Linked DNA regions of Homo sapiens: region 1 is linked to region 2. The links are contacts of gene promoters, found by promoter capture Hi-C in human tissues and cell types (Jung and others, 2019). All regions are on one chromosome and are shown on one strand. Each heading gives the region's core, a stretch centred on a gene start or on the middle of the fragment in contact. The rest is flanking DNA. Distances are from core to core; before and after follow the strand shown.

Region 1 (5,018 bases), core at 416-2,915, 150 kb before region 2:
CTGGGTAAACCAGAACATTTACCAAACTGGGTAAATTTGTTGTGTCATAATTCGAAGATCAGATTTGGGTCTTTCATGCTAAGAAGCCTAAGTAATTCTGTAACAGAAGGTCTTCTGTCTAGAAGGCTTAAGTGTTTGGTTTCCTTACACCTACCAGGAGTCACCATCCTGATAACTTCAAGTGCTGTTAGGATGCAGCAGGAGAATGGGAAGTTAATGGGGGATTTGAGGTTAGAGGTCCTCATCACGCTCCTCTCCCCATTTATTGGGCAGGGATACAGACTAATAGCTATGATAGATATAACAGAATCTTCCATATGATTCAAAGCTATTATGGGATGCAACTAAAATTTCCAAGGCTTCACCTGAGCTCATGTCTATGAAAGCACGTTCGAAACAAAATATATTTAACTTAAAGTGAAATAGGCTGGGCGCAGTGGCTCAAGGCTGTAATCTCAGCATTTTGGGAGCCTGGGGCGGGTGGATCACCTGATGTCACATTTTTTATTCTCTCATTTCCATTTCTCATATTTTTTAAATGAAAGCAATATTTGTGCAGACAGTACTGAAAAAATTCAAAATAGTGAAAGTCTTCCCTTTTCCATTAAATCCCACTCCCATTATGCTTTTAACCATTTTTGTTTGTTTGTTTTTAGGGTTTTATTGTTGTTCCAAAAGTCTAAAAATATACCATGCCTTTCTCTCTATATTTTTTCAACTCAAAAAAAATATTTCTTAACTTTTTGCTAGATAAGAAATTTAGGTCATTTTCCACCTGTCCTAGACTTTGATTTCTATCAGTTACATTTTGGTTCCTAATTTTGCTGTTATTTTTAACTTTTTATTATAAATTTCTGTTTATTGACCTATCACTTTTAGACAGTATATTTGGCCCTTCATGTCTGTGAATGACTTATCTTTGGTTTCAACCAACCTTGGATCAAAAATATTCAGGAAAAAAGGTTGGTTACATCTGTACTGAACATGTACAGACTTTTTTCCTTGTCAGTATTTCCTAAACAGTATAGTATAACAACCATTTCATAGCATTTGCCATATATTAGGTATTGTAAACTAGAAATGATGTAAAGTACGTAGGAGGATGTGTATAGCTTATATGCAAATACTATGCCATTTCATGTAAGAGACTTGAGCATTCTTGGATTTTGGTATCTGCAGGGGACCCTGGTACCAGCCCCCTACGGATACTGAGAGACAACTATATTTCCTCACTTCCTGGTCTTTCAGAAAAAGATATAACACCGATCCCTTTCCTTTTGGGATTTAAAAGCCAAACCTTGCCTTTGTTTTTCCCTCCTCCCTTCCTAGCCTTTGTTTTCTTTTTTCCTTTTTTTTTTGAGACAGGATTTTGCTCTTGTTGCCCAGGCTGGAGAGCAATGGCGCCATCTTGGCTCACTGCAACCTCCGCCTCCTGGGTTCAAGCGATTCTCCTGCCTCAGCCTCGCGATTAGCTGGGATTACAGGCACCTGCAACCATGCCTGGCTAATTTTTGTATTTGTAATAGAGACAGGGTTTCACCATGTTGGTCAGGCTGGTCTTGAACTCCTGACCTCCGGTGATCCACTCCCCCTCCCTTGGCCTCCCAAAGTGGTGGGATTACAGGCATGAGCCGCTGAGCCCGGCCCCAGCCTTTGTTTTTGGTTAGTACTGTTACATTGGCAAGATTTATTGCATTTATATAATGTTTTATAACTCTTCTAAAGTTTTCTGTGCTTCTGCAGGAAAATCTAGAAATTGAGTACTAATAGCCACTCTTTTAAATATGTATGTTGACATGAGTATTAGTTACTATAGAACCAAGTACTGTGGAGCCATAGAGAAACTTCACTTCTGTTAAACCTGTGATCCTTAAAAAGGAAATATAACAAAGTCAGCCGGGCACAGTGGCTCACGTCTGTAAGCCCAGCACTTTGAGAGGCCCAGGCAGGCGGATCGCCTCAGGTCAGGAGTTAGAGACCAGCCTGGCTAACATGGTGAAACCCCGTCTCTACTAAAAATGCAAAAATTAGCCCGACGTGGTGGTGGGCACCTGTAATCCCAGCTACTCGGGAGGCTGAGGCAGGAGAATTGCTTGAACCCGGGAGGTGGAGGTTGCAGTGAGCCAAGATCATGTCATTGCACTCCAGGCTGGGTGACAAAGCAAGGCTTCGTCTCAGGAAAAAAAAAAAAAAAAGAAATATAACAAAGTCCTGGTTGAATGAGGAAAGCTCATTGAAGTTATTTTTAAAATTTAATATTATAATGGGTTCTCATGTTGTAGCCATTCAGCTTGTCTTGGTAGACTTTCCGGAGTCTTGGCCTGCCTTTTCTAATTTGGGAAGCTTAGTAGACCTGTTACCCAGCTGTCATCCTGGGATTACTTCACATTGTTCTCCTGGGTTAGATCTATTGTTATTTGGATCCCATGTTTTTCTCTTTTAGATACCTTTTTTATTTTACAGGAATACAGCCTTCAATAGTTGTTTCTGGAAGGATATGCTGGTGATAAACTTTCTGAGTTCTCGAATGTTGAAAATGGCTTGTCTTTGTTCCTGATTGAAAGTTTACATGTGGAATTATAAATTCCTCAGAATTTTGAAAACTTTGCTGTGGGAATCTAAAATACTTGGTGTGCTAATCAGAGGTCCATTGCAGATCTGATGGTTATTCTCCTGTAGAAGATTGTAATCTACAATTGTAGTCTACGATCTACGGGATTTGTTTACATTCTGAAAGGTTTCTTTGATTTTGTCTTTGAACTTTTCTATAAAATTTATTTCAGTAGTTATCTTTAATTTATAAGAGTTCTTCTATCATCTTTCATTTTTCTTTCTTTTTAAATAGCAACCTGTCCTTGATTTATGGGGAAATACCTTGAATTTCTCTGATGCTAATTTCTCTAGAGTTCTTGAGACACTTCCCTGAATTGGTGACTCTAACAGTGGGTTTGTATTTAGGTATTCCATACTAATTTTTGTATTTTAAATATTTAAGTTATTTGATAAGTACAAAAGATTATAACAGGTAAGGCGTATGTAAACAAACATACATATAATTACCAACCAGTTTACTAATTCATTAGTGTAACTTTAGCAGGATGCACTTTCCTGATCACATCCACTGCAACCATGTCCACCTTCACCAATGACAGTAGCCATTGTACTGAATTTTGGATTCATCATTCCTGGTCTGTCTTTATACTTTTAACATATATACATATGTAAAATTTATTTATTTATTTATTTATTTTTTGAGACGGAGTTTTGCTCTTCTTGCCCAGGCTGGAGTGCAGTGGCGCGATCTTGACTCACCGCAACCTCCTCCTCCCAGGTTCAAGCAATTTTACTGCCTCAGCCTCCCGAGTAGCCGGGATTACAGGTGTGCACCATGCCCGGCTAATTTTTTTGTATTATTAGTTTTCACCATGTTGGCCAGGCTGGTCTTGAACTCCTGACTTCAGGTGATCCACCCGCCTTGGCCTCCCAAAGTGCTGGGATCACAGGTGTGAGCTACTGTGTCTGGCCATCCATATTTCTTAAATCCAAATGTTTGAAAATGAAGAGAAAAAAACTGTAAAGTTTCACCAAACTTGTCTTGCAGAAAAACCCTGACCTGCACTGATATTGTAATCTTTGTTGATCTCACTTAGTGTGAATATTTGTATGTTTCACTGTAGAGATTCTAGGAATAGAATTGCTGGTATTTAAGAAGAATGTGTGCATATTCACCAATATTGGATAATGTCAGATTATCTTCCAAAAAAGGTGGTGTCAGTCTTCGTTCTCTCCAGCAATGCAGAAGTTTTCATTACTCAGCTTTCTTGCTAACATCTACTTTTGTCACACTTCAAAAGGTTTTATCGGTTGGGCATGGTAGCTCACGCCTGTAATCCTAGCACTTTGGGAGGCCATGGTGGGTGGATGGCTTGAGACCAGGAGTTTGAGACCAGCCTGGGTAAAATGGTGAAACCCCATCTCTACCAAAACAAAACAAAATTAGCTGGGCATAGTGGCCCACACCTGTAGTCCCAGCTACTTGGCAGGCTGAGATGGGAGGATCACCTGAAGCTAGGAAGTGAGCTGTGATCATGCCATTGCACGCCAGCTTGGGCAACAGAGTGAGACCCTGTTTCAAAAAAAAAAGTTTTTACCCACGAGTATAAAATACCACCTTTTAGTTTTCATTTGCTTTGCTAATGAGTTTGAGCATCTTTTACTATACTGATTAGCCATTCTTCCCTTTTCTCACATTCCTATTCATGTCTTTTGCCCATGTTTGTACTAGTTTTTTAAAAAAATTATTTCATACTGATTTTTAATAGTTTCACAGTTGGATGCATGTGGTGCAAATTTCTCCTTTCAATTGGGCTCACTTTTAAATCATTTTTATTTTTATTTTTTGAGATGGAGTCTCACTCTGTAGCCCTGGCTGGAGTGCAGTGGCGTGATCTCAGTTTACTGCACCCTCCACCCCCAAGGTTCAAGAGATTCTCCTGTCTCAGACTTCTGAGTAGCTGGGATTACAGGTACCCGCCACCATGCCTGGCTAATATTTGTATTTTTAATAGAGACGGGGTTTCACCATGTTGGTCAAGCTGGTCTCGAACTCCTGACCTCAGGTGATCTGCCCACCTTGGTCTCCCAAAGTGCTGGGATTATAGGCATGAGCAACTGCATCCAGCCTTATGCGTTTTTTGATGAGTAGAAGTTCTTAATTTTTATGTGATTGCATTTATCAGGCTTTTCTTTATGGATAGTGCTTTTGAATCTTGTTGAAGAAATTTTTCAACAGAGTTCTCGAAGATATTTTCCATTATTGTAAAAGTATAAGACGTAGTTTTTTTGTTTTTTGTTTTTGTTTTTTTTTTACCTTTTCTCATTTAAGGTTTTAATCCACCTGGAGTTGATTTTGTATACAGTGTGAAGTGGTGACCAAGATGCATGGTTTTTCCTCAAAGAATAATAAATTGTTCCATCACCTTTCATGCAAATTTTTTTCTTCACTGGTTTGGATGCCA
Region 2 (4,478 bases), core at 1,234-3,733:
TACTGGTTACATGGGTGTGTTCAGCTTGTGAAAACACAGCGACCTGAACATTTATGATTTGTGTACTTTTCTGTAAATGCATTATATTGCAATTAAAAAGTTCTTAGGATAATTTTGATTCATTTCTTGAAAATAGATTTGTTTTTCCAAGAAAACAGCACTCAAAGACAGGTATCAGAGTGAGCACCTGATGGGGTGGAGAATAAGCAGGAATACAAAAGAAACAACAGTGCCTTGCCTGGAGTGAAGATGATAGTACCCCTCAAACTCTACACTTGAGCACCAAGTAGAGAAAAATTAGTGAAAAATTAGTACTGTCATCTTGGAGCCTGTGTGTAGGACCTACCTCATAATTTGGCCCAGTGCAAAGAGAAATGCAAACCCCCTTGTTCAAAAGTTTGAAGACAGCAAGAGTGGAGCAATCAGTCAAAATCAATGGTGGTGGTGGGGACAAATGAACAAGTCCCACTCCCAAGAAGCCAGCCTGCCTGTGTGTGTGGGAGAAAGAACCTCATCTCAGAATCCCAAGACTTGTTGCTAGGTGAGTTACTTTGGGCATCTGTTGCTTTAGTCCTTTCAGCTGTAAAATGGGTTAGCCAGGGGCTAGGAGGTGAAAATTCATTAATATATGCAAGTGAAGCACGTTTTTATGTGCCAGACAGCAAACAAATACAGGAATTATTATAATAATGGGCCCTCTAAATGTTGGAGTTTTTCTTTAATTGGTTAAAAAGCCTACCTGTGGCCGGGCGCGGTGGCTCACGCCTGTAATCCCAGCACTTTGGGAGGCCGAGGCGGGTGGATCATGAGGTCAGGAGATCGAGACCATCCTGGCTAACAAGGTGAAACCCCGTCTCTACTAAAAATACAAAAAATTAGCCGGGCGCGGTGGCGGGCGCCTGTAGTCCCAGCTACTCGGGAGGCTGAGGCAGGAGAATGGCGTGAACCCGGGAAGCGGAGCTTGCAGTGAGCCGAGATTGCGCCACTGCAGTCCGCAGTCCGGCCTGGGCGACAGAGCGAGACTCCGTCTCAAAAAAAAAAAAAAAAAAAAAAAAAAAAAAAAAAAAAAAGCCTACCTGTGACCTTGCAGAGAAATACAGAAACTCTTCATGGATAGCACAGGGGCCACTTCTGCCTTATGAATTAACACAAATCCCGAATTCTTGGTGGAACCCTTATCATGAGATTTTACTGTGCATTATTTGATCTTTCCAGTTCAAAGAAGAAACTACTAAATGCCAAGGTCGAGAGTATTGGAGTCTGGGCACTTCCCCCATCAAAGTTCTTGTGCTGAGGTTTGAGTTTCGGTCAGGTTCGCTGTTGAATCCCTGGCCTGACTCTAGAACATCCCGGAGTGCCTGCTGGAACCTGGGAAGGGGCACCCTAGAATCTTCCAACCGGCCTCAGTGGCGAGCGCCGCGGGCACACGACTCCCAGCGCTTGGAGCCTCTGCGGTGTTAGGATGACAGGACTGTCGCCTGGCCGGGTTGGGGGGTGGGGACGGTATTTCAGGCTAAGAATTTCTGAGAGGCACGACATTCGCATTGCGTTTCTGTGATTATTCTCCCTGGCTTGCGTTCTGAAGCACGAATCTTTCCGGATGTAGTAACTGGCTTCCTAAAGCTTTGGGGGGACTGTGGTCCCCGAAGGCTGCCGGCTGCCTGACCTAAGATTTACGAGTGGTTCCAAGGATGAGACAAGGTCCCAGTGTCTCGGTGACAACAGGGTCTTTGACGAACGGCTGCCGAGTTGCAGCTGGGGAGGGGGAAGAGGACTGTGGCGGGGGCGGGGAGCCCCTGAATTTCTTCCTTGTAGGAGTTGGGCGCCGGGGCACGGGCAGGCAGCCCCGCAGGCCATCAGCATGCAGGAGCGGCGCGCCGTCCTTGAAGGGCTGCCCGGCTGACCTTGCTCCGCTTTCTCCGGAGAAATCGCTAGGAGAGCGCGAGGACGCGGCCACGATGGTGACTCAGTGCCCTGCGCGCCGCACGCAAATGCTCCCTTCCATCAAGTCCAGCTCCGCAACTGTTGTTTCCTCTTCCTGCCCTCTTTTTTTTCTTTTTTTTTCTTTTTGAGACGGAGTCTCGCTCTGTCGCCCAGGCTGGAGTGCAGTGGCGCGATCCCGGCTCACTGCAACCTCCGCCTCCCAGGTTCAAGCGATTCTTCTGCCTCAGTCTCCCAAGTAGCTGGGACTACAGGCGCGTGCCACCACGCCTGGCTAATTTTGTTTTTTGTATTTTTAGTAGATACGGGTTTTCGCCATATTGGCCAGGCTGGTCTTGAACTCCTGACCTTGTGATCCGCCCGCCTCGGCCTCCCAAAGTGCTGGGATTACAGGAGTGAGCCACCGCGCCCAGCCCCTGCCCTCTTTTTAATTCCAAGATTCAAACCCGGCGTTTTGCGCTCCGCCCCTCCCCCTCCCCACGGCCCGCCTATCATTAGCCAGACTGCGCGGGTGTTTTGTACGCCCCCTCCCCCCGTCCCTATCGGCAGAACCGGAGGCCAACCTTCGCGATCCCTTGCTGCGGGCCCGGAGATCAAACGTGGCCCGCCCCCGGCAGGGCACAGCGCGCTGGGCAACCGCGATCCGGCGCCGGACTGGAGGGGTCGATGCGCGGCGCGCTGGGGCGCACAGGGGACGGAGCCCGGGTCTTGCTCCCCATTGGCCGCCACCTCGGCGGGAGGGGCCGCCTCCGGCTCGTGGCACCTGGCGTCTCCCCTCCGCGGGGAAATCGGCGGCTACCCGGCACCGGCGCCTGGAGGTAAAGGTACCCGGGGGTGGGGAAGGCCCCTGGCCGCGGCAGAGCTCCCTGCCACCGGCCCTGTCCTGCTTGCCGCCCCAGCGCCTGCGACGCTTGGATGCCCCCAGCTCCGGCCGCGCCAACCAGAAACTTTGCCCCTCGAAGTCCCCCGCCTGCCTGACCGCACCGTGAGGCGCCAAGTCGGCCGCGCGCCCCCCGGGGCCCCGGAACCCCGCGAGTCATTGCCTGGCCGCCCCGTACCCCGCGCCCGCGGCGCCCGGTAGCCAGGATGCGCTACGCGGACCCCTCGGCCAACCGGGATTTGTTGGGGAGCCGAACTTTGCTCTTCATCTTCATCTGCGCCTTTGCCTTGGTGACCTTGCTGCAACAGATCCTGTATGGCAGGAACTACATTAAGAGGTAAGAAAGTCCATTGAGAGGGCGGGATGCGCGGAGCCGGCCGGCGAGCCCCCGGGTGGCAGTGGCCGCGGCAGCTTCGGTCGCAGCGCCCCGGGGTGAGTGGCCGTGGGGTCCGCTCCTAGCCCCGAGCATGGCCGCTTAGGCTTGGGCCACCGCGTTTCCAAGAGCATCCTTGCTTGCTTCTGCCCAGCGCTGGCTGGAGGGTCCAGACAACTTTGTTCCGCTGTGAAAAATGAAGGACAGAATAGAATTCCAAGCAACCAGGCTGACGATAAATCCATTTAATACCCGGAGAGACCGCATGGATCGGAGCGGTGTCCTCCAGACCCACAGTTCTATGGCCATTTGTTTGGACTCCGGGGTCGGAGGGCTCAAAATCGTATCGATTGTTTGTTTGTTTGTTTGTTTGTTTATAACCTCGCGAGTCCTGAACTTTCGTAAGGACCCTTGGGAGAAAAAGCATTTTCCCCTCCAGGAGCTTCGGGTTCGGTGGGGGTGGTAGTGTGGGCTGTGGCTATGCGACAGGGATAGTGATAGTGAAGTCTTACAATCCCACAGCCACTGGATCTGTGAAACTCAACAACCTGATTCCTTCTGAAACAGATGGCTTTTTTTTTCTCATCCTTAGCGCAAAAGGTCAGAGCTGCAGCATAAGTTAACCCCTCGTTGGGCTCTCCCCCTACTCCACCCCAATCCACGGTTAAACTCCAAGAGAAAGAGCAGTAGGAGGTGTCACTCAGAAATTCAATTCGGGCACAGCCTCAGCCTCTCTATTTGCAGAAGATACACTGAAATGCCAGCCACTTCCTTCTGCCGGCTCTGCTGGCTTAAGGAAACACTTGGGGTTCCTCCGCCTGGTTTGAGAGATTAGGGGAGGTTCTTGCTCTAGGATACACCCATATCAGAGCCTCTCTTGGCAAGAGCCCTCTCTCCTAGCTGCTGGGCTGTTTTTTAGTTTGCTGCTAGTGTCTCCCTACTCTCACCGCCCCTCCCCTAGGTTGATAGGAAAATAAATGTCTCTCTAGCTAAGTAAGCATCCCACCTTCTTCTCTAAACTTCCCCATAACGAAACAGCCCTCTTCTCATCCTTTGGGTGAGGTGGATACATCAGGTATGGGTGCTCCCAATCTGGGCTGCCCACGAAGGTGGGAGGGTGAGGATCGCTGCTAGGTGTCGCTGTCCAGTGGAAAAGCCGAGCACTTAGGCTGTTTCCCCTCCTTGTAACTCCCCCGGAGCTGGGGAGTAATGAGGCACCTTGTTCTGAACATTTGTTTACAGCCAGTTGCTGCTCCGGACCTTCCCAGGGAGCGTTCCCTGGTT

What was found. The method cuts DNA at HindIII sites, captures the fragments that hold promoters and counts their contacts. A contact is called where the count stands out against the background at its distance.
Region 1: a contact is called between a fragment that was not itself captured here and the fragment with the promoter of ST8SIA5 in region 2, in 1 of the 25 tissues and cell types used here (hippocampus).

Annotation. Positions count from the first base shown.
Region 1 is chr18:46,908,392-46,913,409 of GRCh38, reverse strand. The region is part of intron 1 of PIAS2 (protein inhibitor of activated STAT 2); the gene reads left to right. Among named protein-coding and RNA genes, the nearest start is that of PIAS2, 6.6 kb to the left of the region's middle. RefSeq lists enhancers at 1,505-2,004, 2,005-2,506. The HindIII fragment of the contact is 6,307 bases long and covers 1-4,818 here.
Region 2 is chr18:46,755,058-46,759,535 of GRCh38, reverse strand. It overlaps ST8SIA5 (ST8 alpha-N-acetyl-neuraminide alpha-2,8-sialyltransferase 5), which reads left to right and starts at 2,483. Exons shown (of 7, transcript NM_013305.6): 1 at 2,483-3,158. The coding sequence starts at 3,028. It overlaps ST8SIA5-DT (ST8SIA5 divergent transcript), which reads right to left and starts at 2,093. Exons shown (of 3, transcript XR_001753434.3): 1 at 1,077-2,093; 2 at 1-739. RefSeq lists a silencer at 2,511-2,900. The HindIII fragment of the contact is 8,707 bases long and covers 1-4,478 here.